4 separate regions of the Homo sapiens genome follow, and all the other regions are linked to region 1. The links are contacts of gene promoters, found by promoter capture Hi-C in blood cells and fetal thymus (Javierre and others, 2016). All regions are on one chromosome and are shown on one strand. Each heading gives the region's core, a stretch centred on a gene start or on the middle of the fragment in contact. The rest is flanking DNA. Distances are from core to core; before and after follow the strand shown.

Region 1 (5,672 bases), core at 1-2,500:
TTACAGGTGCCTGCCACCACGCCTGGCTAATTTTTTGTATTTTTAAGAGACGGGGTTTTACCGTGTTAGCCAGGATGGTCTCGATCTCCTGACTTCGTGATCCACCCGCCTAGGCCTCCCAAAGTGCTGGGATTACAAGCGTGAGCCACCGTTCCCAGCTTAGGAGTATTTTCTAAATGCACCTTGCTTTTTTTTTTGAGATGGAGTCTCACTCTGTTGCCCAGGCTGGAGTGCAGTGGTACGATCTTGGCTCACTGCTCAACCTCTGCCTCCTGGGTTCAAGCAATTCTCCTGCCTCAGCCTCATATGTAGCTGGGATTACAGGTGTGCACCATCACACCTGGCCAATTTTTGTATTTTTAGTAGAGATGGGGTTTCACCATGTTGGTCAGGCTGGTCTCAAACTCCTGACCTCCAGTGACCCACCCACCTCGGTCTTCCAAAGTGCTGGGATTACAGGCGTGAGCCACTGTGCCCGGCCCTAAATGCACATTTCATTTCAGAGCCTGGGTGGCTCTGATTTGTAACCTCAGGAAGCGGAGCCTGATGGCAGGTGGATGGGCCTGGCCCCAAGTGCTTGTGGAAGGAGCAGAGCCACAGGCTGGGTCAGAAACGTGCTGTCCCATGCGATCCTGGATGGAGATGCCTGATTTCAGTGGGTGGTGCCTCATGGATGATTGCTGGGTTGGGCAAGAGGAAGGACTTGGAAACCCTGTTTTTCTGTTTCATTTCCAAATCCTGGAGTGTCTTTTAGCCAACTATGGCAATAACACCTCCACTAACCTCCTCTCTTTGTGGCGCTGCAAGTGCCTTCCTTCTCCAACTCCTTGAGGCAGATTCTCCCTTGAGAATCCAGGGCACTCTGATGCTTCCTCTGAACCCCTTCTAGCGTTCTTTCCTCTTCAACCTCCTCTCGCTTCCCTGTCTCCTTCAGGAAGCCTTCCCTGAGGGCCTCAGTGACTTTGCTCCGGCCATCCCTCCCTGTCCCTCAGCACTGACATCCCAGTCTCCTGCCTGCTTCCTTGTCTTTGGGCATGCCTATTTCTCCAACAGCCTGGGAGCTCTGAGGGCAGGGTCTGGGTTTCCTTCTCCCTTGGCTCTGCACGTGCCGGACACTTATTCTCCAGGCACGTCAGAGTAAGTCAGCTGGAGCCAAGTGACAGACACAGTCAGGTCAAGAGTATCTTGCTCTCCAAGGCCCAGCCCAGGTACGGGAGTGGATAAAAGTCTCGTGCTGGGGCCCCAGGGCAGAAACTCACACACCTTGACAATCTGTCTGTCCGTCTGCAGCTGCGTGACTGTCTGTCTCTGCCATGTCTCTCTCCCCATGCCGGGCCCAGAGGGGCTTCAGCGCTCGCTCAGCCTGTTCTGCTCGCTCAAGGGGCCGCAGCAGGGGAGGCTTCAGCAGCAGGGGCGGCTTCAGCAGCAGGAGCCTTAATTCCTTTGGGGGGTGCCTGGAAGGCTCTCGTGGGAGTACCTGGGGGTCAGGGGGTAGGCTGGGGGTGCGGTTTGGGGAGTGGAGTGGTGGGCCTGGGCTCTCCCTGTGCCCTCCGGGGGGCATCCAAGAAGTGACCATCAACCAGAATCTGCTGACCCCACTGAAGATTGAGATCGATCCCCAGTTCCAGGTGGTGCGGACGCAGGAGACCCAGGAGATCAGAACCCTCAACAACCAGTTTGCTTCCTTCATTGACAAGGTGAGGGTCAACTCAGCCAAGCCCCTGTCTCTGTGCCTCCCTTGGAGGAGCTGCTCTTGATGGACTTGGAAATGGGAAGTTTGGCCTCCTTCTACCACTTTTCTAATAACTTCTGCAGCAAAGAAGTCCCTCCTGTGGACTAACTGGACTCTCTCTGGCTATGCTGAGGCCCTGTTGTTCCATGATTGGGGCTCAGGGACAGAGAACTGCCAGCCAGCGGGGGGAAGGCCCTGCCCCATTAGTCAGTCCAGTCATTTTGTTGTGTTCAGAGTGTCATGGAAGGTCATGAGGCTTCCCCTGCCCAGGTTGGGCAGGGGGACAGGGGAAAGGTGAGGCTGATGGGAGGGTCCCTCAGGCTTTACTTTCCAGAGGCTGTGCACAGGGAGTCCCACAGGAGCCTCAGGGATCCTCTGCTTTTGCTGCAGGTGCGGTTCCTGGAGCAGCAGAACAAGGTCCTGGAGACGAAGTGGCATCTGCTGCAGCAACAGGGGTTGAGTGGCAGCCAGCAGGGCCTGGAGCCTGTCTTTGAGGCCTGCCTGGATCAGCTCAGGAAGCAGCTGGAGCAGCTCCAGGGAGAACGAGGGGCTCTGGATGCTGAGTTGAAGGCCTGCCGGGACCAGGAGGAGGAGTATAAGTCCAAGTAGGCACACTGAAATTTCCCCATGCCATGTGGGCGGGGTCTGGGATGACTCAGTTTGGGTCTGTCAGCCAGGAGGTGTCCCACATACTGAGCACCCAGAGGCACATGACTGGCCTCCCCTCTACCCCTCCGCGTCCCCATTCCCCAGGCTCTCAGGTGCCCACCTGCTACAGGTAAACGAGGTGTCCCGCAGTCCCCAAGCAGATCTGGAGAACCTTGGAGGAAAGGCAGGGAGACCGGTGTCCTACATGCCCCAGCTACAAGGGCCCATGTTTCCGGTCAAGGCTGGGAAGGGCTTATTTAAACAATGCCCCAGTGGCTTTTTTTATTCTTGAGAAATTCCTGTTCAGCGGGCTGTGGGCTAAAGTGATTCAGATGTTCTCTGGTTCCAAAGAGGGAAGGGAATCAATTTAGTGGGGCTGTCCCCAGGCCTGTGACACAATTCACAGATGGGCTGTGGTTCTGGGCTCCACGCCTAGGTCACCTGGTGGAGTGGAGAGAGCCCTGGACTAATAGGGGGCTTGGGTTGGGGCAACTGTGAGTGAGGGGTAGCTGTGCATCCTGGGCAAGGCATCTCATCTCTCCCGGACTTGGTTTCCCTTCTGTAAACTTGGGAAATGTCACCTGCCCTTCTGGCCTCCCAGGGCTATTGGGATAATGGGATGTGAGGTGGAGGAAGGAAGGTTCTGGAAGGAGCCCTGGATTGGGGTCAGAAGACCTGGGCTGGCTCTGCTTTGTCTACCTAGTCATCTGTGGGGTCTTGGTCAAATCATCTAATCTCTCTGATAAAACCCAAACTGCCTACCTCAAGTGATGGGTGTGAGTAGCAAGTGGGAAAAGGTATTCGAATGTGCCTTATAAACTGAAACAATGTGGCTGTCGTCATCAAAAGGACATGGGCTGAAAGGGTGGCACAGGTACATAGCTAGGACGTGGCAGGAAAGGAGAGAAGGGCTGGTTATTGTCTTGTTTGGGGGCATTCTAAGGCAAGGAGTCCTTTTCAGGGAGGTCATGCTCGGACATGGGGGCATGAGCTCTGACCGTGGAGCCTCAAACTGCATCCTTCTCTACTTATTTGGCAGGTATGAGGAGGAGGCCCACAGGCGTGCCACACTTGAGAACGACTTTGTGGTCCTCAAGAAGGTGAGGGTGGGGGCCAGTGCTCCACTTACGTTCTGAGCATCCACTGTGCACGGAGCCTAGTCCTAGGCTGGGAGGGAAAAGGTGGGAGGTCCTGATTTAGGACAGGCTATCACTCTACCTGCAGGGGTCCCCTGGGAAAATGGGACATCTGCCTAGACACAGGGGCCCCAAGGCAAGATCTGACTAAAGGACTGCTTGACGAGCTCTTGATGTCACTGCAGGAGAGGGCGGGGAGGGAGAGGAAGAAGCAGAACTGGTTGTGATTAATCAGGGAAGACTTCCTGAAGGTGATGTTGGGTCAATGTTGGGCAAAGGAGAGAGCAGGACAGAGTGGGGCTGGAGGAGGAAGGAGGGGGTCTTGGGAGGCATGGTGGATGGGTGTTGAGCAGTGCATGAACAGAATTCCTGAGCCAGAGTAGGGACCCCAAAGAGGAAGAGGGGGTTACGTGTTCTCTCTCCCCTTGTCTCCAGGATGTGGATGGGGTTTTCCTGAGCAAGATGGAGTTGGAGGGCAAGCTGGAGGCTCTGAGAGAGTACCTCTACTTCTTGAAGCATCTGAATGAAGAAGTGAGGCTCAACCAAAGGGCAGGCTGCAGCCAAGAGAGAGGACTGGGTGGGCAGGCTTCCTGTGGCCATGAGGAGAATGGCCAAGAGGGGAAGTCTGTTAGGGTGGCTTAGATTCTGGGTCATTCAGTCACTTGACAACCAATTACTGAAAACTTACTATGTGAATTGCTAGGTCCTGGGGATACATCAATGAATAACCAGAAAAAAATCACTACAGATAAAAAAATTGCTTTTTTTTTTTTTTGAGATGGAATCTTGCTCAGTTGCCCAGGCTGGAGTGCAGTGGTGCAATCTCAGCTCACTGCAACCTCTGCCTCCCGGCTTCAAGCAATTCTCTGCCTCAGCTTCCCAAGTAGGTGGGATTACAGGCACCCGCCACTGCGGTCAGCTAATTTTTGTATTTTTAGTAGAGATGGGGTTTCACCATCTTAGCTAGGCTGGTCTTGAACTCCTGACCTCATGATCCACCCGCCTCGGCCTCCCAAAGTGCTGGGATTACAGGCATGAGCCACCACGCCCGACTAAGTTTGCTTTCTATTGGGAGACAGACAATAAGCAACAGACTTAGTAAATAAGGAAATCATATAGTATGGAAGAAGGTGATAAACGCAATGGAAAAAAGGAAAATGAGAACAGAGAAAGGAGGATTGGGAACATGGAGCAGGTGCCAACTTCAAATCATGTGGCCAGGGTAGGCCTTATTTAGGAGATAAAATCTGAGCAAAGATTTGGAGGAGGTGAGGAAGGTCACCACGCAGGTGGGTTTCTGGGATTCCAGGCAGTGGCTGCAGCCCACAGCGGGAGTGTGCTGTCTGAGGAAATGCAGGAAGGTCGGTGTGGCCAGAGTAGTAGGAGCGAGAGGGAGAGGAGTATGATAAGAGGTCTGAAGATGGCTGGGCACGGTGGCTCATGCCTATAATCCCAGCACTTTGGGAGGCTGAGGCAGGTGGATCACCTGAGGTCAGGAGTTCGAGACCAGCCTAGTGAAACGCTGTCGCTACAAAAACACAAAAATTAGCCAGGCTTGGTGGCAGGTGCTTGTAATCCCAGCTACTAGGGAGGCTGAGGGAGAAGAATGGCTTGAACCTGGAAGGCAGAGGTTACAGTGAGCCGAGATCACACCACTGCACTCCAGCCTGGGCAACAGAGTAAGACTCCATCTTAAAAAAAAAAAAGAAGAAGAAGAAAAAAAAAAGAGGCCTGAGGAGTGATGGGGGCTGGGTGATTTTGGGCCTTGCAGGCCATTTTCCATTAATGTCCAAGCTGCAAGAGACTTCAGAGACCACCTCCTATGGCTCTCATTTTTGAATGAGGAGATCGAGTCCCATGGTGAGCAGGGCATACTCAAAGCCACCTGGGATGAATGGGGGTCATGGCATGTAAGCAGAAATTCATCATCCTGCTCAACCATCCTAGGCTTCAAGGGGAGAAGGAGCTGGGGGTGAGTGGACACTGAGTCTGTCTTCCCTGCAGGAGCTGGGCCAGCTCCAGACCCAGGCCAGCGACACGTCTGTGGTGCTGTCCATGGACAACAACCGCTACCTGGACTTCAGCAGCATCATCACTGAGGTCCGCGCCCGGTACGAGGAGATCGCCCGGAGCAGCAAGGCTGAGGCTGAGGCCTT
Region 2 (5,672 bases), core at 966-3,465, 320 kb after region 1:
GGCACAGCCCTGCCTGGGAAGGCTGATGGGTAGAGATGGAGAGCATTTGGGCCTCACAGACCCAGAGAGCTCGCAGCTACATCTTGCAGGGGGCATTGTGGCATTGATGACCCTAGTGGTACCCCCAGAATTTCTTCCTGGGTAGGGCTTGGGGCTTAGAGGTGGCGATCTGGTTAGGAGGGGCGGTGGCATGGCAGGTCTGTGTCAAAGCTGGTTTGCAGAGGAGCATACCATTTTGTTTAAGTGGCATGTCTATTTGCGTGACTTCAGTATATGGGCTGCTGATGTTGCTGACGGGGATACTGGCTCTTCAGGGTCCCCTCAGCAATTCCCCTTATGTGCTGATTGAGAGCATAAGCTCTAGGAGCAGCCAGACCTGGGGTCAAATTCCAGTTTTGACAAATATTATCCATATGAGCTTAGGTAAGACATGTTCCTTTCTGAGGCTCAGAAAACGGGACAAATAGTAGTGCTGATCACCTGTGGATGAATATGGATGAATAGTAAGTAAGATAACGCATGCTACATTTTGGCACAATGTCAGGCACACAGTAAGCACTCAGTATCCATTCACTTCAAAGAAGGGCTGGAGGAAATCAGGTCCAGTATCACCAAAAGCAACGAGGCTACATATCTCAGTGAATGGTGCTAATTTCTTTTCTAAGTGGGGCAGCCTCATGCAAGGAGCTGGTCAGTCTCTAAGAGGCCACAGGGTGGTTTGGCCCATCCCAAAGGATCCAAAATGCCAAATAATGCTCAGGCTGGGTTATTCCATTTCATACTCTCCTGATCATGGCCTCTGCTCATCCTGAACAAAGTGTTGCAGGGCCCTGTTTGAGTGTCTTGGCCATAAGCGGTTGTGGGGTTTGGAGAGGGGAGGAATAGAGCGAATCGCTGAAGCTTGGGCCAAGACACTGGGCTACTCCCAAGGTATTAGGAAGTATCAGCAGTTGTTAGCCACGTCTCATGCATCTGGAAGGACTGCCCCAGGAAGCATCTGGGCTTTGCCCTGGGCCTAGTGCCAGGGTAGGAGGGAGATGGGTGTCAGGCGATCCCCAGGCTTCCCCCTTGAGGACATTGTATAGGATTTTATAGGGAACCCCAATCCCCTGAGTCTTGCCCCAGAGTCTTAGTGGTCCTGCCCTGGGTTCTGGCAGTTCAGAGAAGGGAGGGGGTCTCCAAGGGCACCTCCCCTGTCTATACTCCAGGGCAGGGGTCCCTCTCTCTTGGGGCTGCTGGAAGATGTTATGGTATACTGACTGCTGAGTGGTATCTGGGGCCCTCTCTGTTTGCTGCCTTCACAGACTATCCGGAGGTTGAGGCCTCTGCTGAAGTCATCCTCTTCAGAGTCAAATCACAAGTCCTGCACTGAAAATCCAAGTGCCCACAATGGTGATGACAAGGGCTTTTGGAGACACCCTTGCCTGGGCTCTTACCTAGGCTCTGTCACTTGCCAGTTGCTTACCCTCTCAGGGCATCAGTTTCCTCATCTGCAAAACAGGGATCATATTAGGCCCACCCCACGAGGCTGTGAGGAGTAAATGAGTTGATACATCCAGAACCATGCCTGGCTCACAGTCAGTGCCACTCAAGTGTGGTGATTGCTGTCATCTTTCACCAAGCCACAGAGCACATCGAGGGCTCAGGCTCATCCCATGCTGTGAGCTTTTTGGGGATCATGAAAGTCCAGAACTTCAGAGAGACAAGCTGCCTAGAAATCGTCAGATACATCTCCACATCTCCCCCATTTGCAAGAGACTGCCAGAGAAGGCATCTGGGTCCTTGTTTCACGTTTTGTGCCAGAGAAGATGGGAGTGGGGAGGCACAGTGTAGGGAGGGAGGGAGCAGGCAGAACCAGCACTGAGCACTGACCCTCTAACATTAAATCGGGAACCGGCCGACATGGGGTTGAGGCTGTGAAGGGATCCACCTGGCTGGAGAGTGGAGGTGAGGCCGAAAGGCCCTGGGGACCAGGGACTTGTGAATGAGCAAGAAATAGTGGGAGTCCTTGACAACTGTTACAGAGGATGTGGGTTTGACTGGAGGCCCAGCTAAGTACTGTGAGGCTCTGGGCACGGGCAGAGGGAGTCATGTGTGAATTCTAACTCCTTATTATCAGCCACTGGAGTAGAGGCGATCAGCGTCTGCAGACTGGTGGGACCTCATGGCCTAGAGCAGACAAATGCCTTGGAGGAACAGGCTTCGGTGCTAACTTAGGCTTGAAGGCCAGTCTGCTCCCTGGAAAGACCCAGACCAGCACCTGGACATGAGGGCTCTGGACAGGGGAGGGGTGGGGAGCAGTAAAAACACCCTCACCCATCACAGTCACCTGTCAGCCCTGTCATGCACACAGCCCTCGGGAAATGGCTCTCTGAAGAGGACTGAGACGTGCAGCCTTGGACTGGGAGACAAGTAGGCTCTTGCTGAGGCCCAGATGGGCAGTGCAGGGCAACAACAGCGTGTGGGACAGGACCAGGACCCAGGCTTGGCTCTCACCTCACCTTGCCAAGGGCTTGGCGTTAGGCTCCACCTCCCTGAACTCAGCCTGTTCCTCTATGGATGGATCACTGGGCTGGTTTTTTTCTCTGAAACCAAGTCAGGCCAGCTTCCCTAACCCGGCCCTTGCACAGTGACCCGTCACTGTCAAGTGGTGTGGGCCACCATCCTGGGTCTGGTAAGGAGATCCTAGAGGAGACCCAGCCCTGTTCGCAGTCCTGGAGTCTGAGGGAGGAAATGGGGAAGGGTACAGGGTCACACAACCAGAGTCCAGAAGTCCAGTGCATGGCATCTGCCTTGGCCAAGTCACACATGTGGAACAGGACCTGATTCAATGACTGGCATGAATTGAAACACTCCTGCACGCTCTCTTGTCTCAGTTGCTTTTTGCACTGCGTCTCCCTTGGAAGAAGCCTTAACCTGTTTTCACAAACCCTCAACAGTGATCGTTGGTCCAAGTGGACAGTGAGCAGGTCAGTGTTCACATGTGCTCACGGAACATGAAGATGGGAGCTGCGAGTGTGTCCTGGAGTCTGAGGGAGGAAATGGGGAAGGACACAGGGTCACAGTCTCACATAGACGGTGGGACTGGGGCCAGCAAGGTGTCCCATGGCCTTGAGGACTGTGCAGATGCCGAGTGCATTTCCTGAGGGTGGCCCTGGGAGAGGCAACAGCTCCAGCCTCAATGCTGTCATTTACTTTCTTTTCTCCCTCACCATATTACCACCTTCTGTACTGATTCACCCCACCTGCCCTCCACCCATGATCAGAGCTCACCTGACTCACCCCACCTTCCCCCCACCCATGATCAGTGCTCACCCAAAGCAGGAAAGCCAGATGGAATAAGGCTCTGTCTCCGGCACTTGCCCTCCCTCCCAGGACCAGGAAGCCCTGAGCCAAACACAAACTTGGGGAGGGGGGCAGCTGTAGCGTCTCCTCTGCCTCCCCGTTCCCAGTTGTGGCTACTGGTGAGAGAACAGAAAGTAGCAGGGAGAAATGGAACAGTGGGTGAGTTGGGGATGTCAGCAAGCTTCCTTCTGCACCTCTGATGCTGCAGGGATACAACCTGGTGTAAATGAGTCATGTCTCTGCCTCTCCACTGAAGAGGGAGGCTGCAAATCCCCAGAGTATGGGACACACTGACACCTACATTGGACAGCCAAGCTGAGGAAGTGCTAAGAGCCCTTCTTTGCATGCTCTAGTTTCATATTCATATATGTAAAGTGTGCAGGGCAGTGCCTGGCACATGGTCACTCCTACGTAAGTGTTTATTTAAAAAATAAAACCACCCTCTATGAGAAAGCAAAGCGCAGAGGATTTTGCTGTATATCCTTTTTTAGTCCCTCTGACTAATTAAAGTATTTGTTGATTTCCAGCCCATAGTTTCAATCAACCAAGGGGGATTTTCAAAGAGTTTGGTGTGCCATGAGCAAAACACCTTTCATACGAGGGAAGAACATTCCTCAGACTTGCAGGGGCCTGCTGGAGGGAAGCGGAGGGCTCTGCTCTGCACCCTCTCCTGCCAGGGCCAATCGGCTGCTGAATCTAAGGGATGGGGGCCAAGGCTGCTCCCCACAGCCCCCTGCAGGCCTGCCCCTCCCTTCCTGCTCAGCCCCAGCCAGCTCAAAATTAAAATTCCAGCTTGCATGGCCCCTCCAATGAGCCCAGGCCCCTCCCTTCTCTCCCAGCTGCACTGGACAAAACTATGCAGTGAGAGGTTAGGCAACTTGCTCAGGGTCCCAGACCCATCCAAGGACTGGGTCAGGACCAACACATGGTCTGGAGTGGTGCCACATGCTTTTGCACCTATGCTGTGACCCACAATGTGTGCGAAGCCCGTGCACAAGAAAAACTCAACTCCAGGGGGTAACTTGTCACTATGACCTCAATAATGGCAGCAGGGACTCACCTCCAAAGGCCCTCTGAGCCAAGGCTGAGCAGTTGCTTTATGTCTGGACATTTGCCTTTCTACCTAGTCCGGTTTTCAGACTGGGGTCTGAAAGCCCTAGAGACATTGGGCTGTAGGAGGGAGGGGGTGGTGTGTCCAGCTCTGCAGATCCAGAGTGGCCACTCCCCTCAGGGCCCTGTGATTCTGAGAATCTAGCTAGGACCAGAGCTGGGACCCAGGTTGGGATGGGGGCAAGATTCCGCTGGCTTTGGGTGGAGGCAGGAAAATTCTTCCCTCAATTCCCCCTGAGGCTAGGGCTTTGTGAAGAGCTATCTTGGGCTGGCCCGCTGTTCCATCTGCCCTTCCCCATCCTGCGAATCTGGCTGCAGGCTCCCTGATGGGGCTGCCAACCATAGCCCAATGAATAGGGTGACTCACACCTCAACTATTGCTCCCCACTTTTTGTGCTGAACAAGCGTGAGGTGGAAGGGCTGCAAAGTTGAGGCCACTAAAGCTTTCTTTCTCTCCTGGAGGGGCCTGGGGGCTGGGGTGGCACGTGCAGGCTACTTGTTAGTGGGCTCAGATGCAGAACACCCTCAGAATAAGGGTGAGGGAAGAAGAAGGATGGAGGGAAGCCTAAGGAATAAAGAATCCTAAATGCTAGATTAAATCCTAAATCCTAAACACAGAGCATACCCAGTGTGAAGGGGACAACAGACTCATCCTGTAGACACGGACTGAGAGACAAAATCAGATGGACAAGACTCTGAGACTCAGCATAGGGCTGGAGGATTCACAGAAATATATGTGAATATATATAATGTATATACATTCTGTTATACATAGGTTGGTGTAGATATAGGTTGGTGCAAAAGCAATTGAGGTTCTTGCCATTGTGGGCTTCACATAACAATCTGGGGAAGGAGCGGAGGAAGAGGATTTTCTGTCTGTCAATTCACTCCAAAAAATATCTGCAGAACACTTCCAGTGCCCAAGGCTGGGCTGAGGGTGTGGGCCATGCAGAGATGTTCCCTAACCTTGGAGACTGCCCTGCTGGGGGGGACTTAGAGGATATGTACAAATGCTGTTTTATGGAACATGTTCTATTTATCATGCTCTATTAAATGTATCTTCTACTAAAGCCCTACAGATTGGAGTGGAGGCTCTGAGGAGAAGGAATCCTGGGCTGGGATGGCAGGATTTGCCTAACCCTTGTTCCACGAATGGATACCACCCTCTCCCTGGTGTCTGTGAAGGGCTTCTCCATGTATGAAATGCTGACCAGGTC
Region 3 (5,672 bases), core at 1,382-3,881, 300 kb after region 1:
CCGCACCCAGTATGAGGAGATTGCCTTGAAGAGTAAGGCCGAGGCTGAGGCCCTGTACCAGACCAAGGTGAGCTGGGCTGAGGTGGGGCCAGGGAGGGTGATGCCAGCGGGCAGCAGATGGAGACAGATCGTGCCCAGAATAGAAGCAGTGTCCCAGTAAGTGTCTGTTGTGTTCTGATCCCAAGATACATGCACTCCCACGACACACTCATGACTCTGTGCTTTGGGGTCCCCAGTTCCAAGAGCTTCAGCTGGCAGCTGGCAGGCATGGGGACGACCTCAAAAACACCAAGAATGAAATCTCGGAGCTCACTCGGCTCATCCAGAGAATCCGCTCAGAGATCGAGAACGTGAAGAAGCAGGTGAGAGCACGTTGGCCTTGGCCTGTGGTCAAGTGCAGGGGAGCATGAGTAGAGGGGAGATGAGCTGCTGAGAACATGGGCCTCCCAGATCGCTGCCTGGGAGAAGAGAGAAGGCCAGTGAGGTCGCTGCCTCAAACACCTGGAGCAGGACGTCCCTGGGGGCTACTCATCTCTGACTCACTCCAAGGACCTCAGCCTCGAAGCCCCTCCTTAGAAAGCCTCCTCGGCACTGGGCTAAGACCTTCCCCCAGCGATGTACCCTCCTGGCACCTGTGCTTCCCTGTATTTGTCACACTTCCTGTTATTACTGACACTGCCACTAGACTGAAAGGGGGCAGGGAGCTGGCTGCTTTGTACCCTGTTTCCCCAGCATCTAGCACAGTGCCTGGCACATAGTTGCAGCTTGATAAACATCTGTGGAGTTAATGACTGAGATGGAGAAATGGGCTCAGGGAGCACCCATTAAGGTGCATTGTTAAGGATTGACTAGGGACTACTCCCAGGAATATAGGATGCAGCCTCGGCTTGTAGGTGAGACACAAGATGTACATATACGATAGCAATGGCAGCGGCACCTATTCTTCTATCGCACTTCATCCTCACCAAGACCCTGAGAGGCAACAGTTGCCCTCGCTGTTGTTACAGATGAGGAAACTGAGGCTCAGAGAGGATAAGGGGGTTACACAGCTGGTAAGTGGCAGAGCTGTGATCTGAACCAAGGTCTCCTGACTCCTAGTCCAGTGCTCCTTCTATTCTTTTGTGGGCTTTAACACTTAGTTGCTTTGTGATCTTGGACAGGTTACTTCTGCTCACTTCACAGGGTGTTGCAAGGACTAAATGCGTTAAGTTATGTCAATGGTATGTACAGTATTGAGCCTGGTGCTGGCATACACTAAGTGCTTGGCAAATAACGGTTGCTCCCGGGGTGTGTCCTTCCCTGTCCCCCTCGACTGTGGTGCCCTGTTCCTGGGCAGCTGCTGCCTTTGCGTCTGCCACAGCATATTCGACCATCTCTCCTCCCAGACCTAAACAACTCAAGAGTATTGCTGTCATTCATTTCGTGCCCTTGGCACAATATGGCTGAATAAATGTCTCTATGCTGAACTAAAGTGGCGCTCAGGAGGGCATGGCTGCATGATTTCCATCACCCACACATCCAACACAGGGAATGGGGCTAGAGCTAAGGAGGGAGGTGCCAGCCCCAGAAGGGGCTCTGCTGCAAGGAAGTGTGATGGTGTGTGTAGGGTGGAGGCGGGCCACTCTGCCCCACTCTAAGGACCCAGAGGGATTGGATGTGGATGGTTGCAGTGGCTCCTCCAAATTTTTCGACTTCACCAATTCCTTCCTTAGGCTTCCAACCTGGAGACAGCCATCGCTGATGCTGAGCAGCGGGGAGACAACGCCCTGAAGGATGCCCGGGCCAAGCTGGACGAGCTGGAGGGCGCCCTGCACCAGGCCAAGGAGGAGCTGGCGCGGATGCTGCGCGAGTACCAGGAGCTCATGAGCCTGAAGCTGGCCCTGGACATGGAGATCGCCACCTATCGCAAGCTACTGGAGAGCGAGGAGTGCAGGTGGGCGGGGCGTGCCCAGACAGGAGGGCCCCAGGGGTTTGGGAAGACCCAAAGGAGAAAGCCTAACACATCTCAATCCAGAAGAGATGAGTTCTTAGGAAGTGATGGGGTGATGAGGATAGAAATAATCACAGTAATTAACAATACTACCATGAGTGGACATGAGTATCCACTCAGTAGACTGTGAGAGCTTGCTTCATGGCAGGCACTATGCTATGTAGTAAGCTATGCAGATTTGCTCGTTCTTCCTGGGCATACTAGAAACAACCACCGCCCTGCTCCCTGCAAAACCCCATTACTCTATTAGGCATTCTTGTTCCCTCTTCCTGATCTGTCCATGTGCAGCTTGTTGGGGGTGTGCCGGGGCAGCCACCCCAGCTTCCCCAGGGCTCTACAGGGATGGCAGGCTGGTGTGTGGACCTGACACGTGGGAGGTAGATACACTGCCCCTACGTGTGCACCTTTTGTAAACTATTGTTTGACTAGGGTTGTTGTCTGGTTACCCCAAAGATTTGGGGGTAGTCTCCAAAACTTCTCAGGCTCTGCTTGCATCAGAGAAGCTTTGGAATTTCCACAGGTGCCTGTTGGGTCCAAAAACCCACATAAGGCTGATGGTGGCAGTAGCTTTAAAGAGACTGAGCTGGATGACTTCTCTTCTCCTCTTATTTTATTTCTCTCCTTAATAGGATGTCAGGAGAATTTCCCTCCCCTGTCAGCATCTGTAAGTATTTGTATACTTTCACCTAAAATTGTAAAATCTGCAGCCTGGAAAGGACCTTAGTGACACCCTCTGTGTGCAGATGAGGGATCTAAGAACCAGAGAGGGAAAAGCTTTGCCTGAGATCACAAAGCCAGATGGCAGAGCCATGGCCAAAATCGGCTTTCCTGACTCCCAGGCCAGGCCTCCTTTATTCTTATCCCTCTGACTTTCTGTTCCTAGGGGATGGCAGCAATGGAAAGCTATTGTCATGGGAAAGCAAGGGTTATGTTGTAGAAAAATGATGCATGGGTCTGTGTGAGGCTTAGGGAGTCAGGTTTGCAAACTGCAACCAGACTTGGGCTTGGGAAGTAGGGAGGGCTGAGGGAATGAGAGAATGAGGGATCTTAGAGGTCAAGCTGGCAGTATCAGATCACTGCATTGCTTAGCAGGGCTAAAAGAGTTAAACCAGAGCTTGGGAAAGATGCCTGCTGTGGGACAGCTAGCAGGAGGAAGAGGTTAGAGGCTGGGAAGTTTAGCAAAAAGGCTAATAGAAAGGGCAATGGGTGGGTGTCCAGGAGGACAGGTAGGGGTATTGGTACCTGGACCAAGGAGTAGGGCCTCTGAGCATTAATGGGGCAAGACTCAGCCAGATTGGATATAAGCCGAACAAGCCAAGGACAGAGCATTAGGGAAGCTGTCTTTGGTACATTCTCCCCAGGGAGAGGGAGCGGGTGTGCACCTCCCCACTCAGCTTCTCCAAGAAAAGCCCTGTCTGCCCTGGGGAAAAGGAGGCCTCCCCAGCTCTCTGCCTGAGTGGGTGTTGGCTTCGGCTCCTCCTGCAGCCATCATCAGCAGCACCAGTGGCGGCAGTGTCTATGGCTTCCGGCCCAGCATGGTCAGCGGTGGCTATGTGGCCAACAGCAGCAACTGCATCTCTGGAGTGTGCAGCGTGAGAGGCGGGGAGGGCAGGAGCCGGGGCAGTGCCAACGATTACAAAGACACCCTAGGGAAGGGTTCCAGCCTGAGTGCACCCTCCAAGAAAACCAGTCGGTAGAGAAGACTGCCCCGGGCCCCGCCTCATTCCATGACCCGGCTCTGGATCCCACACTGTACTTCCCACAGCCCACTCTCAGCTCCATCTCCACCCTGCTGGTCCTGCTCCCATACACCTGGCACTGGCCTTGGCCACCCACTTCTCCCAGCCTGTGTCTTCCTGATCCTGGGAAGGCCTGGATGACCAAGCTTGGTGAAATTCCTCCCTGTACACACCCTATTAACTCCTTGGCTGTGGTCCCCCAGCTACACCACCAGCCCAGGTCCTGGCTGCCAGCTTTCCTCCTCTGCCCGGCCTCTAGCGCAGTCGCTAACTACTCTGCTGGGCTCCCTGGGTCTCTGCCCAAGGCCCCGCACACACTGGGACCTAGCATAGTTCCTGCCTATGCCAGGAGCTGGCTCTGTGTTTAAGAAAAGGAGGACTGAAGGACAAACAACCAAGAGTGGCCCAGTCCCCACCCCCACATCTAGCTCAGTCTCAAATCTGAGTGGGACCAAGTGCAATTCAGGGCCTTTTTCTCCACTCACCTGCACCCAGAAGCAGAGAAAAGCAGGCACTGTTCACTTTTCCTTTATTCTTAATGGCCTTCCTCTGTTGCAACCTCAATAAACAGCACAATCTCATGGCTTGGTCTCTGAGTATTCAAAGTATGCACATGCACCTCAATTCACTCACATGAGCGCGCACCATGTACATTCATGAATGCATGAAGCACAAACACACACACACAAGTACATCACTGTGTATTGCCCATGCAGCCTATATGTCTGTGTTAATTTTCAGGAGGCAAATGGGGTGTGGAGCAGGGTCTGGGAGGAGGGGCAGGGAGGGAGGAAAGGAGAAGCCCAGAAAGCGTGTGCATGTACTGGCTGGAGGCTTCAGCAGATGGACATGCACAAACTGTGTCCAGTGACAGAGAAATGGTCGTGTTCCTGACCTGACCTTGCCTCTTTCTGAGACTGCACCTTTCCTCGTTGGAAGGTGGGCTTAGTGCACAGGTATTTGCATTTGTCCAGCCCTTTTCTCACCGCTCAGAGGCCTGGCCTCCTGCGGGGGTCAGCAGGTGGGAGTCCCACACTCTTGGCTTCTCAGATGGAAAGATAAGTAACAAGTCTTGGAAGTTGGGGCTGGTGTAGGGAGGAGTGAGCTGGGGTCCCACCATGGGGTGGGGGTGGGCTATGAATTTCAGTGACTGGGGGGTTGGCACTGCCCCAGACATACTCCTATCCCACCTTCCAGAACCACTATGGTGATGGCCAGTCCTGCCTTGGTAAGGGGTGTAAGGAGAGTGAACAGACAGATTCCCTAGGCCAGCTCTGTGTCTTGGGTGGGGAGGGGAGGTGTAGGAGGCTCAGGGCATTTGCAGGTGGGTGGGAAGCCAACGTCTTTGCAGTGAGTGGGCAGCGACCTAGTCTCACAGTAGCCACACTAATGACGTCATCTGGGGGAAGGAAGAGGGTTTCAGTTTCATAAAGGAGCAGGGAGGCCTGGTATTGGGGCTGGGCTGGAGGGGGATCAGAGGATGAAGGTTTGGGGCAAGAAGACCAAGTATAATGGAAGAGGAAGACAGAGGGTCCGGAGGAAGGGACGGATGGTCTGAGTTGACATCTAGGACATTTAGAGTAGTGACTGGGGCTTAGGGCAAGGCTCAAAAGCCCCTGCCCAGGAGATGGTCAGAGCCGGAGACTCCTGGCTGTCATCAACCTGTCAGCACCGTCATCTAGCAGGTGGGTAAGTGGAATAAGACTCAACAACATGTTTGCGTCCTTGATTGATAAGATGAGGCATGTGTGTGTGTGCATGCATGTGTGTGTGTGTGTGTGTGTGTTCAGTACTGGGCACAGACATTGCCATTTCCTCAGTGAAGGCACCATGCACACCTGCTGCCTTTGCTAGCCTCCTGCCTTTGCAACAGTAGGGACCGAGGTTGGATAGCAGAAAGAACTTTCCAGTTGAGAGGCTAAAAGAAATGGCTAGATTCTCAA
Region 4 (5,672 bases), core at 1,905-4,404, 260 kb after region 1:
GACAGTAGAGTCTGCATGACATCTCAACCACAGGTGCTCTCTGAGGCAGGTAGTTTTAAGACAGAATGCACAGGCACAAAGGAGCTGGAAATTGATTCCTTTAACTATGTCCTTGCCTGCATCCTCTTAAGCAAGGTTATGTGTGCCCCAGGGGTATGGGAATCCCAGTTTGAAGACCCCCACCCTGCAGCTCTCAGCACAGAGGTGGTCACTAACTGTTCAGTGAGTGTTTGCAGAACTGAATTACCTCATTGTCTTGCCCCATGCAGGTATGAGGTGGAGATTAACAGACGCACAGCTGCTGAGAATGAGTTTGTGGTGCTCAAGAAGGTAAGAGGGGTGCCAGGTGGGCTGGAAGAAGCCTAGACCTGACCACCTGGCACAATGATGCTTGTAGGGTGAGGAAAGGGGCCCTGTAGGTCACTCAGTCCCTTGGGCAGGGGTGACTGGCACTCTAACTTCCCAGCCCCTCCCTCCAAGTCCCTTGCCTGGGATGCATGCTGTTTCTAGAATTTGCCAGTCTAAAATCTGGGCATTTTACTGCACTACTGGTGTAGCCATTGCACTGCACGTTAGTTGGTTTACTCTCAGGGACTGAAGGGGACTCTCAGGGAGCCCCCCATGAAGCACAGGGTGAAGGGAGAGGAAAGAGCAAGGCTTCCTGTGGCAGGGAGGGAGGGATGGGCAGGGGAGGCCCTCTCAGGGCGGCTTGACTATCATGTGCTCCCAGGACGTGGATGCTGCTTACATGAATAAGGTTGAGCTCCAGGCCAAGGTGGACTCCTTGACAGATGAGATTAAATTCTTCAAGTGCCTTTATGAAGGGGTAAGGACTTGGCTGACCTCTCTTGTGAGATCTGCTCCTTTAACAAGAGGTTTCTGGCCCCTGGCTGGAAGGTGGTGTGGACCAAGAATTGGGAGGGAGAAAGCTTTCAACCTGGTGCCCCTGACATTCACCAAGGCCCTACTGGGTGCTGAACAATGAGCTAGGTTTTGAGGAGTCCGTGAAAGAGAAGAAGTGATTCTTGCCCTCCAGGAGTTCACAGCTTGGCAGGAAAACACCACGTAGCTGAGCTTTCAGAGAGCAGAGGAAGGAATGGTGGGTTCTGCCTGGGCCATCAGTGAAGGTTCTTGGAGAGAGAGGAGAAAGAGGACGATTTCAGTGGGTGCTGAGGGGGGCAGAAAAATAGAAGGTCCAGGAGCCTGTCCTGTGCTAAAGCATGAGGAATGAAGAAGGGCGCAGAGGCCTGGGGAAGGGACTGGTGCTAGTGACTCCCTAGGGGACTTCACATGCTAGGTAAAGAGTTCAGACTTGGTCCTATGGGTGGAGGGTGGCGGTGGCTGGTTTCTGAGGATGAGAATGTAGAAGGGTGCAGGAGTGCTCCTGAGTGTGCAATGGAGAGAGGAGTCTCAGCGTTTGGGGCTGAAAGCCTAAGGCACTTCTTCACGTGCCTGCCAGGCACTGGTGCTGAGGCAGAGTTCAAACGCTGAGGAAAGGCAGAGGGACAGTGAGGAATTTGCCCAGGGAGGACCAAGAGAACTGGTTCCTCATGAGTACCCCTTAACTAGCTCCCCTCCCCCAACCGTCCCCAGGAGATCACTCAGATCCAGTCCCACATCAGCGACACGTCCATCGTCCTGTCAATGGACAACAACCGGGATCTGGACCTGGACAGCATCATTGCCGAGGTCCGTGCCCAGTACGAGGAGATTGCCCTAAAGAGCAAGGCCGAGGCTGAGACCCTGTACCAGACCAAGGTGAGCTGGTGCCAGGTGTGCTGAGTCCCACTGGCCACAGCTAGCACCCTCTCAGTATGTGTGCATGTGTACGTGTGTGTGCGTGTGTTTGTGTGTGTGTGTGTATTTGGGCTCAGTCAAGACCTCCTTTGTCTTGAAGTTGGGCCTTGCGGAAATGCCACCCCAGGGGTAAGGGAGATTAACTACAGTCTTGGCTTGTTTTGCGGACATATATGGGGCTTAGCCCTTCTCCTATCACGGCCCTTGGCTGAGGCCACACCAGCTACAACCCTGATAGGATTCTGACACAGTTTCTATGGGTAATTCACATATATTGTCTTATCTTCATGTTTCCACTTTGGCAAAATGAGGATAGGAAATTCACACTCTGCCAAGGCTCTCATGTTTGAGAACCTGAGGATCTTGTTGAACTAGGGCAGGATCCTTTCTGTCCAGAAGAAAAGGGACCTGCCCTAGTTCAGTAGGATCCTTGTGTTCCTCTTCTCTTGTCACCCAACCTCAGATCCAGGAGCTGCAGGTCACAGCAGGCCAGCATGGGGATGACCTCAAGCTCACCAAGGCTGAAATCTCTGAGCTCAACCGCCTGATCCAGAGGATCCGCTCAGAGATAGGGAATGTGAAGAAGCAGGTGGGTTCTATGAAATTAATCCACTAACAGTATTTATTGAGTCACAATCTGGGCCAGACAGAATATGAAGAAAGGGTAAAACACAGTGCCCTCCTTAGGGCCTCCTCTAATTTACCAGGAGAGGATGATCTGAACAGATATGGAGGGATAAAGCAGCCTACACACTGTAGGTAAGTGTTACAGGAGCCCAGAGGGGTGAGAGGTGAATGAGGACCCCAGGGAAGCTTTGCAGGAGGTAGGATTACACCAGGAGAGGGGAAGGAGCAGGTGAAGGAGCCCGCAGGAGCAATGGGCCTAGGTAGTGATGTGCACAGCACGTGTGCAGGTGGGCTTGCCTATCTGGGGCAGGCAGCTCGCTGCTCAGCAGGGGTGGCAGGGAGCAGGGTACACCACTGGGTAGGAATAGGTAAGCCTTGGGGTTTAGACCTAACGCAGGAGGTAAAAGGGAGCCATTTGAAGGTTTCCCATGATGATACCTTGTGGGAGGAGAGAGAATCCAGCAGGAGATTTTAGAACAAAATGGAGGAGGCACAGCCCCCACAACCCAGATCGGGCTCAGGGCCCTGCACTAGCGTGGGGCCTTCCTGCACTAGTGCTGTGCTGTGGGGAGGACACTGCACCGAGGTCCCCCTCTTTGGGAGGTAGTACCCGTGCAACCACATCTGTGGCTCTAAAGCAAGCAAACCCATGAGTCCTCAAGTTTGTGAAAGCAGTGCAAGGGTTTAAGGCTCTCAGCTCCCAGGCAAGTCAAGTTGTCCCATCTCCTTACCCTCCCCTGCACCCCATCTCTCACCACGCATGGTGCATGCTTACACATGTACACACACACACACAGACACACACACACGCACTACTCCTCTGTGCTCATGGTAGTGGGAAGAAGAAAGACCAGCATTAAATAACTTAAGTTGTTTTTGTTTAATCAAGAGCTATATAAGTGCAGAAAAAACGCAGATGTTTGAAGCTACCCTCAGTATTCTACTACAGTGTTTAACTAATGAAATGCTATGTGTTTATGGTTGGACGAAGTTATTACCAGAAACTGACTTGCTTTGGTGGTCAGGGAAGATACCCTCTGCGGGGAACAAATGGGGATCCCTCGCAATGCTGAGTCCCCATTGCGGCTCCTTTTGAGGGCCCTCAGCTAAGGTGCTTCCTGCCCTTCTGGCCTCCTCCATCAAAGAAGGCCACCATGTCACATGCAGAGTTCCTTGGCATTTGGTGTCCTCAGCATTCATGTGACATTTGTTTCAAAGGATGCTAAAATTTCAAGTCCTCTCAACTCGGGCCATGTTCACAAGACCCAAGCTTTTGGTGTCCCTCTGCCCCAGGTTCACTGTGTGGGATCTTGGTCAGTAAAAAAGAACAGAAGACAGTTTGATGAGTTCAGGTGACAGTGTGTGTGGCCACTCCATGAATGATTAAAACTTCTACAGTCCCAAGGGTGGGGCAGGGTTTTCTGTGGTTAGAAGGCTGGGTCCTAGGCATCTCCTTGAGGCTGTGAGCCACTCATCCAAAATACGAGGGCATTGGCACTGCTGTGGGCCTGCCCAGCAGAGGAGGATGGTGGCAGCTGGACAATATTCTAGAGCCCATTTGGCCTTGGATCAGCTGCTTTCCTTGGTGTGAAGCAAATGTGGCTCCACAGATGGGCATACCCCAGAAAGAAAACCTCAGCTCCCACCAAAACCTTAGCTGAGGGAACATATACCAGACTGAAGGGCTCAGGAAGCCCCCTGGGGGCTTTCACATAAGTGCAAGCACACAGCCCCAGCTGCAGTTATGCAAAGCTATCTTCTTTAATTAATTAATTAATTAATATATATATATATATTTGAGATGGATTCTCCCTCTGTCACCCAGGCTGGAGTTCTGTGGCACAATCTGGGCTCACTGCAACCTCTGTCTCCTGGGTTCAAGTGACTCTCCTGCCTCAGCCTCTCGAGTAGCTGGGACCACAGGCAGCTGCGTGCCATCACTCCCGGCTAATTTTTGTGTTTTTAGTAGAGACGAGGTTTCATCATGTTGGCCAGCTGGTCTTGAACTCCTGACCTCAGGTGATCCACCTGCCTTGGCCTCCCAAAGTGCTGGGATTACAGGCATGAGCCACTGTGCCCAGTCTATTTTATTTATTTATTTATTTTTAATTTTAGTTTTGGTTTTAAGTTCTAGGGTACATGTACGGGATGTGCAGGTTTGTTACATAGGTAAACGTGTGCCATGGTGGTTTGCTGCACCTATCAACCCATCACCTATCAACCATGCATCTTGAGCACAGCATGCATTAGCTATTTTTTTTAGCTATTTTTCCTAAAGTTCTATCTCCCTCCACCTGCCAACAGGCTCCAGTGTGCATTGTTCCCCTCCCTGTGTCCATGTGTTCTCATTGTTCAGCTCCCACTTATAAGTGAGAACATGCGGTGTTTGGTTTTCCGTTCCCAGTTAAGTAAAGGTATCTTCTAAGCCTGTTGCCATTTAGCATAGTTCTCTTTGGGATTTGGGGACCAAACTCTAAGTGTGGCAAGTTTATAGGACAATTTATTAATAGGAACTTTATTAGCCCTCATGTTTTCCCCATGATTTATGGGATCTCCTAAAACAACCTGTACACTGCAGAGCTGAATGAAATCTAGCTGCTCAGAGACTTTTTTTCAGAGTTGACATAAGAATCTTACAGCTGATATTTCAGGCCAGGAGGGAGAGGGCAGGGGCCATGTGCCCAGGCCGCCCTCTTTCTCCGTGCCTTCCCCTCCTCCCTCCCAGGTGAAGGTTTTCTACTTTCAGATGCAGAGGCATGAGCCAGGGTGAACCATGCCTGGAGTTAGGGGAAGGACAGACTCACCTCTAGGGATGGCCAAAGTTGGATAAACCAGGAGGATCTCCAAGCAGTTGCCATCAGTCAGGACAAAACAAGGGGAGGTTGTCCAAGCAAGATCTCAGAACTGGGCTCTGACTCTTAAGTGCTGGATCTGTTTGCCCCTCAGTGTGCCGATCTGGAGACGGCCATCGCCGACGCTGAACAGCGGGGGGACTGCGCCCTGAAAGATGCCCGGGCCAAGCTGGATGAGCTGGAGGGCGCCCTGCACCAGGCCAAGGAGGAGCTGGCACGGATGCTGCGTGAGTACCAGGAGCTCGTGAGCCTGAAGCTGGCCCTGGATATGGAGATCGCCACCTACCGCAAGCTGCTGGAGAGCGAGGAGTGCAGGTGAGGGGCCGGATACCCTTGTGTCGGGACCAGTTTTCTCTCTGCTTTGGTAGGAAGCTCCAAGGCAAACAGTTTGGTCCT

What was found. The method cuts DNA at HindIII sites, captures the fragments that hold promoters and counts their contacts. A CHiCAGO score of 5 or more calls a contact.
Region 2: a contact is called between a fragment that was not itself captured here and the fragment with the promoter of KRT78 in region 1, in 1 of 17 cell types (naive CD4 T cells). The highest score is 5.7, in naive CD4 T cells.
Region 3: a fragment that was not itself captured here is called in contact with the fragment with the promoter of KRT78 in region 1 in 3 of 17 cell types (naive CD8 T cells, non-activated CD4 T cells and erythroblasts); the score reaches 6.1 in naive CD8 T cells.
Region 4: a contact is called between a fragment that was not itself captured here and the fragment with the promoter of KRT78 in region 1, in 12 of 17 cell types (naive CD4 T cells, M1 macrophages, endothelial precursors and 9 more). The highest score is 12.8, in naive CD4 T cells.

Annotation. Positions count from the first base shown.
Region 1 is chr12:52,844,572-52,850,243 of GRCh38, reverse strand. KRT78 (keratin 78) reads left to right here and starts at 1,250. Exons shown (of 9, transcript NM_173352.4): 1 at 1,250-1,697; 2 at 2,123-2,337; 3 at 3,420-3,480; 4 at 3,952-4,047; 5 at 5,521-5,672. The coding sequence starts at 1,314. The HindIII fragment of the contact is 13,226 bases long and covers 1-5,672 here.
Region 2 is chr12:52,523,071-52,528,742 of GRCh38, reverse strand. No RefSeq gene overlaps it. Among named protein-coding and RNA genes, the nearest start is that of KRT5, 5.5 kb to the right of the region's middle. RefSeq lists an enhancer at 5,477-5,672. The HindIII fragment of the contact is 2,626 bases long and covers 903-3,528 here.
Region 3 is chr12:52,542,547-52,548,218 of GRCh38, reverse strand. KRT71 (keratin 71) reads left to right here. Exons shown (of 9, transcript NM_033448.3): 5 at 1-67; 6 at 237-362; 7 at 1,713-1,933; 8 at 2,620-2,654; 9 at 3,476-4,310. The coding sequence ends at 3,687. Among named protein-coding and RNA genes, the nearest start is that of KRT71, 7.8 kb to the left of the region's middle. RefSeq lists enhancers at 1-52, 53-554. The HindIII fragment of the contact is 271 bases long and covers 2,496-2,766 here.
Region 4 is chr12:52,587,550-52,593,221 of GRCh38, reverse strand. It overlaps KRT72 (keratin 72), which reads left to right. Exons shown (of 9, transcript NM_080747.3): 3 at 270-330; 4 at 731-826; 5 at 1,594-1,758; 6 at 2,261-2,386; 7 at 5,371-5,591. Among named protein-coding and RNA genes, the nearest start is that of KRT72, 11 kb to the left of the region's middle. RefSeq lists an enhancer at 3,641-3,810. The HindIII fragment of the contact is 1,084 bases long and covers 2,613-3,696 here.